2 separate regions of the Homo sapiens genome follow, and region 2 is linked to region 1. The links are contacts of gene promoters, found by promoter capture Hi-C in blood cells and fetal thymus (Javierre and others, 2016). All regions are on one chromosome and are shown on one strand. The core of a region is centred on a gene start or on the middle of the fragment in contact, and the rest is flanking DNA. Distances in the headings are between cores, read along the strand shown. Region 1 holds the start of SP8 (Sp8 transcription factor). Region 2 has its middle 57 kb from the start of LINC03007.

Region 1 (3,508 bases), core at 288-2,787:
AATATTCAATAGGGCTACAAAGACTGGACTTTTTGCTACACTGGTGTTGTGCTTTCTGCGGTTTAAGTTCCCTTGTGGTGGCAGTGAAATTGTAATGGCATTTCTGAAGGCAACTAATAACACAAATGGCAAGCAAATGACTAAACCCCACCGAATTTGAACTAAGTGTATCTATTAACATGCACACACACTCATAGACAGATCTCTGGCCCAATCGCCATTAGACACTGACGCCTGGATAAATGTCCAAGATTTGTCAAAAGCTCCTCTCTATTCTTAGATAAATAGAACCCATATATTTCGATCAAAGTCCTGATTCTTTTCTCAGAAAGAGGCAGTGAGGTTTTCTGTGAAAATTTCTAAATTCCGTAAAACGCTCTTCAATTTCTTACCCAAAGAAAAAACGACCCTCGCTTACTCTCTTCTCTATCTAATCCTTTTGTATTGAAATTTACTCAACACCACGGGACACACACACCTCCTCCCCTAGAGTGAGACGTGCACTTCTAAAGCAGAATTCCACCTCAGGGAAAAAAAAAAAAAAAAAAAAAAAAAAAGCCACGGCATCAAAGAAACAACTCATGGGCGCGCAGGCGCGCATCCACGTCCCAACGCATCCCTAAAAATAACCCTTAGCCTCTCAACCTTTCTACTATTTCGTTGGAGAGCCGGGAAAGAAAAGGTGGGTTTAAAGATCTTCTTCAAAAATGTAGTGACGCTGTTTACCAAGTTAAGAAAAAAAAATCACTCAAGATTTTAGGTACAAGGAGCCAAAGGAAGTTGGCGACAGGGGCAGCGTTTGTGAATATTTATTCACTCAGCCTCCATCAACTTAGTCGGTTTCTCTCTTCAGCTCGACAGTCTCTCTCTTACAAACACACACTTTATTGCATTGTTCCCATTCCCCACTACCAGCTTTGGTGCGCGCACACAACACAAGCGCCCACACACACCCTTCCCTCTTCTCTGTCGCACAAATACACATGTTCACAGCCCTCCTTCTCCCCCAACACCAAACACACTCACCCCCCACCCAGTTGAGTCCCTCTTCCCTCCCTAGGTTTGTCAGTTACACTACCGTACACTCACACCCTTCCCAACACTTAACTGCTCTGTCCCTCTACCCCGCTTTGTCGCACACGCAGTTATCTTATCACACAACCCTCCCTTTTCTGCACTCTCTCCACTCCCCGCCTTTACCACACTGTCACTGTTACGGTGTCACACCCCCATCCCCCCTCCCTCCAGTCTCCGCACTGTCCTCTCCTACGCCTGGTCACACTCGCACACAGTTACATTGTTACACACACACTCATACACGCGAGCGCGCGCTTTGCGCTTTGTAACACACGCAGCCGCCCCCGCCCCCTCCGCTCCCACTCCCCCTTCCACCACGGCGGCAGGCGGCGGCGCCGATGACCTCACGGCGCGCGCGCCGCGCGGCCCGGCGAGGCCGCAGATTGGCTGGCCGCGCCTCCGCGGCACTTCAAAGCCGGAGAGGGAGCTACAATTGTGGTGGAATGGGCGGAACTGATCATTGTATTGCACACCTCTAAAAAAAACACTGCCTCTGATTTATCAATATAAAAAAGATCCTCTGAGAGGAGGAGGGCACTTTTGTGTGATGGCAACTTCACTTCTAGGGGTGAGTCTCAGGATTTTCTCTTGCTGGTTTAATTAGTTTCCTTTTATTGCCGATTGGAGGGGGTTAAAGTCGCCCCGGCCAGGCCACGGGCTATCAGTCTCTCTATTGAGAGCTTTTTTTTTTTTTCTTTAAATACAAGTGAGTTTGGAGAAAAGAAAAAGGGGGAGAAGGGGGCAGAGTCACTTTTTTTCAGCGCAGGAAAAGGTTCGAAGGGCATTTAGACAAGCCACCGCGCAGCGCCTCGCTGCTCCCTGCCCGGGAGACCTGCGTCCAGCCCATTTTACAGGCACCGATTTCGGGGGTAAAGAGAGCAAGTTTTTCCTTCTGGGCAAAGTGCAGATTCTTCCCCTAACCCTTAAAAAAAAATTCTGCAGCCCGCCTTGTCTCGCAGGTACGTTGAACTCGTCTCGTTTTTACTACTGTAGATATGCTTTTAAAAAAAGAAAGAAAGAAAAGCAGGAAGAAAGAGTGAGCCCTACAGTTTGATTTCTTTTGGCCTGGGAGAAACAACCCAGGATGGGTTTCTGGGGACCCGAACAGGTTTTTCAAAGCTCTCCGGATTACAGGGAAGCGCTCTTAAAAGCAATCCAATGGTTTTCCCCCAGGCTTCTCGGCAAAGAAAACTTCCTTCCTCTCCAATCTGGACTTTTTGCTTGTTTGTTACGAAGTGTCTGGGGCTTTGTGTGCAAGAGAGTGTTGTTTTAGGTGAGAATACTTGTCAAACTCTTCTTTAGCGTGGTGCTTGCTCCCGAATCAGACGCCGGCAGCCAAACTTGTCCCCTCCTGTAGAGTAGGAAGCGGCCGGGCGCCGGGGCTGTTGGGGGTGCCAGGTGAGTTGGTGGCGGCGCGCCGCAGCGAGAGATGGGGTGCAGTGGGGCGCTTTGGAGGCTACCGAAGGACTGATGCACATTTCTTCCTTTCCTCCCCCACCGGCCCTTTGCCCACCTCCCCTCCCCCACTCCTTCTCCTCTCCTCCTCGCAGGAAGAACCGAGGTTGGGATCGACTCCTCTGGCCATGCTTGCCGCTACCTGTAATAAGATAGGCAGCCCCAGCCCGTCTCCCTCCTCCCTCTCGGACAGCTCTTCTTCCTTCGGCAAAGGCTTCCACCCCTGGAAACGCTCCTCGTCCTCTTCTTCCGCCAGCTGCAACGTAGTGGGTTCCAGTCTCTCAAGCTTCGGCGTGTCCGGGGCCTCCAGGAACGGCGGCTCGTCCTCGGCGGCTGCGGCGGCCGCGGCAGCAGCCGCGGCTGCCGCGGCCCTGGTGTCCGACTCGTTCAGCTGCGGCGGCTCGCCTGGCTCCAGCGCCTTCTCCCTCACCTCCAGCAGCGCCGCAGCCGCCGCCGCCGCCGCCGCAGCCGCCGCCTCCAGCTCGCCCTTCGCCAACGACTACTCTGTTTTCCAGGCCCCCGGAGTTTCCGGGGGCAGCGGCGGCGGCGGCGGGGGCGGCGGCGGCGGCTCCTCCGCGCACTCGCAGGACGGCTCCCACCAGCCGGTGTTCATCTCCAAGGTGCACACCTCTGTGGACGGGCTGCAGGGCATCTACCCGCGGGTGGGCATGGCGCACCCGTACGAGTCGTGGTTTAAGCCCTCGCACCCGGGCCTGGGTGCTGCGGGCGAGGTGGGCTCGGCCGGCGCCTCCAGCTGGTGGGACGTGGGGGCCGGCTGGATCGACGTGCAGAACCCGAACAGCGCGGCTGCGCTGCCCGGCTCGCTGCACCCTGCCGCCGGGGGGCTCCAAACCTCGCTGCACTCGCCGCTCGGAGGCTACAACTCGGATTACTCGGGCCTGAGTCACTCGGCCTTCAGCAGCGGCGCCTCCTCGCACCTGCTCAGCCCCGCCGGGCAGCACCTCATGGACGGCTT
Region 2 (3,508 bases), core at 632-3,131, 5.1 Mb before region 1:
AGAATCCCACCATCTATAGCTAATCACCTTTTGAAGTTTTGGAGTATTGCTGTTCTCGTATGTGGATCGGTTTCATAGTTGTCATTATACTGCAAATGCCCTTGTATATCTTGCTTTTGTTCACAGTGTTATATCACAAGTATCTGTATTTGTTGTTAAAAGCTCTTCATAAGAATAATTTTGATCATCTGGATGATTCATCATATGGCTGAGCCATGGTTTACTGAAGTCAGTGACTTTGGTAGGGTAGTAGTTGCAGTAAGCTCACTAAATGTGACAAGAACAAAAAAGTTATTTTATTGAAAAGTCACCCTACTGTGTGGCCATCCTCATCCCTCATATTGGCGGCCTTCCTTCCATGACTCTAGACAGCTCCGGGAAACCAGAGCCCTTCTACTCTTAAGCTTATTTTTTAGAAAAAATATCTTAGAAAATAATCTCCCTTTCCCCACCTAATCAATCCAGATGTTTAATTACCACGTTGACACAATTGGATTATGACTTCAGGGCAAAAAGCAACTTTACTAAAGAGAATTTGAATGGAAAACAAGAGCATTTTAAAGATCCTCATACAGCAGTTTATTTCTCTTGTTAAATTCATGTCCCTCAAGATATCACAGTACCCACTAGGTACAGATACTGGGCCGCCCTTTGTTAAATCGTAGTTGGATTTATTTTTGCTTCCCTTTTTGGCCCTCTTTCTCACCATTTGTCATTTTCACAGGCTTTAGTGACATAAATCTTGTGGAATGTTGGCTATGCACATAGCATGAAGGATTCAACCTCTCCCATTTCAGGCTGGTTGGCCAATGTAAGCAACTGAGGGTGGCAGAGATCAGGGACAGATAAGACAGGGAGAAGAAGGGGTAGAGGGACTTTGGAAAGAATACCTGAAGTACGAAAGTGACACCTTTAAGGTTAAGGGTGATGGCAATTGACTGATGATTACCAGGTAACAATGGAGTCCACTGGAAGCTGCATAACCATGAACTGTTATGATTATTTTTTCCTATCTATGTGGAAAGGCCTGGTTTGCTTCTCTGCACACAGTCCTGATTCAGTGTGGTGCCCGCATATTGTAAATGTCTTATCCAAGAATCCAGGGACCTGGCCCTGAAGGAAAAGCTGAGGACAGAGTATTTCTGCAACAGGCCTAGGCTCTTGCAAACTTGCCTTCCCAAAGCTCCAAGCCCAACTGGCCTGCAGGGGAGGCGGTCTCGCTGACAACCTGCCCTTTGGCCTTATACCTTCTGTCACAAAAGAGCCATTTTTCCTGAATTTGAAATTGAAGAATTTGATGGCACACGAGTGCTGGGGGGATTTTATTAAGCTGATAAATATGACTACAATTTACTTAAAACCAGTGGCTCTTCTCACTGTCAATGTTGTGGAGTTTATGCCTTTTTCTCTCAAGCTCTCTTTGGCCCAAGCAATTCAGGGCAGAGAGTTTGAAGGGTATTTTGTTTCTGATGTGGGCAGTCTGAAAAATAGTGGACCTTTTAACATTGCACTGACAGACACTCTCAGGGCTAATATAATTGATGTATTCATAGGAGCTTAAGCAAAATAGCTTTCCAAAAGGGAGAAAAACTTGTCTTTTCACCTAAGCACTGACCGATTTGTGGTTTGGATGCTTACACGAGATATTAAACAGACCCGATGGAAAAGGCTTGTTTGCCTCAAGTCTGACTTTCCCTCCTCTTGTAATTTTTGGCCTTGAGTCAAATTTTTGTCCATTCCCCTGCACTCCTTGGGTTGAGGCCAGCACAACGGGCTTGCACTCTCCATGGTGTTGACAGAGTGTTTTTCAGCTGTACCAAAGGCCACAGATTTTCTGTCAGACTTCAAGATACACAGCCTGATAAACATGTCTGCCTCTGGCGATTGGCAGCATTCTTTCTGGAAAAGAAAACAAAAATTGTTTTATATCAATAAGGAAAGTGGTATGAATAGCATAGAATAACACAACTTGGAAGGTGTGCCTGAGGCCTGAGCTTTTTTGCAGTATGTTTAGCTCTTCAGTTCAATTTATTTTTGAGTTCTGTCTTCACCCCACCAGCATCTGATTACTTTCATCAGCCATATGTGTCTGGTTGTGTAACAAATAAACAAATCAACAACCGATTTGTTTGGAAGGTTGGTTGGTGGTAAATGACTCCAGAATGGTGTTTGGAAAAAGTATTTTGGCTTTCTGTAGATATTTTATTTTTCATATGGGATGAAATGGCTGATTTTCGTTAACTCTCTTGTTCACTACAATTTAAAGAAACTGCATGATGTTTCTTCTCTCTGATATTTTCTAGTTGAGTTTTTTTCCCATCACTTTATTCTCTTGGCCATGTGTCAGGTCACCAAATTGGGAAATCAGCCCATGTGGATGACACAAAACTCAACTCTGTGTTACCTGGAAATCTCATCTTTGTAGAGCTGTAGCCAGCTCGGTGCAGATTCCCACAATCAGAGGACTGGATAGCTTCTTCTGACAATTTCTTGCAATCAGAGGGGATTCTTGCTTTGCCATCTTGACTTCAACGTTGACTGTTGGAAAGGAAGAGGGAGGAACACATCCTCAGAGTCAGCACCCTCTTTCTAAAGCTGCTTTGCCATTGAGCAGATGCCCTGGAAGCCTGAAGGGAAGGCTGACTTCTTCAGGTTGAACTTCCCTTTGGAAGATTGATTAAATGCTGATGATCTCTTCAGCAAGCCCATGTGGACCCAATGGCTCAAAGCCAGCCTCAGAACCTCTCCAGTGCAGGCTGCTGGCCGGATTGTACCACCTCACCTGGATGCCGGCTGCTCAAAGGCAGACGAGGCTCATGATGCCTGCTCTTGGGAGTTCCTCAGTGGCACTCAACATTAATTACCTCTCCCCCAGGCCCTTCTGCAAAGTCCAGTGCCAGATCTCTGATGTCACTGCAGGACTATGATTAAACACCAGCTCCAGATCAGCCCAGTGACAGGGAGGGTCATCAGTAATGGATTTGAAAGGGGCTTCAAGGCCCAGGGTAATATGTTATTCATTACCAATGTCGGCTGAGGAGCTGTGAACCTGTCTGTTGGTTGGTAGCGCTTTATATGACACCTCCCCAGGGTCAGTTTCTGTTTGATGAGTGGGAGTGTGCTGTAAACATGTGATGTTAGTATCTTATCAGGTAGCAGAGCTGAGTAGAGATGAAATAGTTCAGCAGTCTTAAGCAGCTTTAGAGAGCTGCCTCAGAAATAAAAATTGTTCCTTCATAGACATAGTAATTCATACATACATACTTATACACACATATATGCATGTGTATACATACATACATATGCATATTGTATGTTTGGGGATGAGCTCTGAATTTAGGACATCTTGACAAGCTTTTCTGTGCAGCTATTCTGCTTGCAGAGGGCAGGGTTCCTAACCTGGGGTGCATGTTTGATGGCCCATGGATGGGCCTGGACAAGGTCTGAGAACCTCTATGATTGTAAGTAAATTTTTGCATGGAAGGCTAAGTTACTTACCCTCTCCAAG

What was found. The method cuts DNA at HindIII sites, captures the fragments that hold promoters and counts their contacts. A CHiCAGO score of 5 or more calls a contact.
Region 2: a fragment that was not itself captured here is called in contact with the fragment with the promoter of SP8 in region 1 in 1 of 17 cell types (total B cells); the score reaches 6.9 in total B cells.

The regions. Positions count from the first base shown.
Region 1 is chr7:20,784,915-20,788,422 of GRCh38, reverse strand. SP8 (Sp8 transcription factor) reads left to right here and starts at 1,537. Exons shown (of 2, transcript NM_182700.6): 1 at 1,537-1,645; 2 at 2,628-3,508. The coding sequence starts at 1,625. The HindIII fragment of the contact is 6,810 bases long and covers 1-2,820 here.
Region 2 is chr7:25,845,119-25,848,626 of GRCh38, reverse strand. No RefSeq gene overlaps it. Among named protein-coding and RNA genes, the nearest start is that of LINC03007, 57 kb to the right of the region's middle. The HindIII fragment of the contact is 2,950 bases long and covers 407-3,356 here.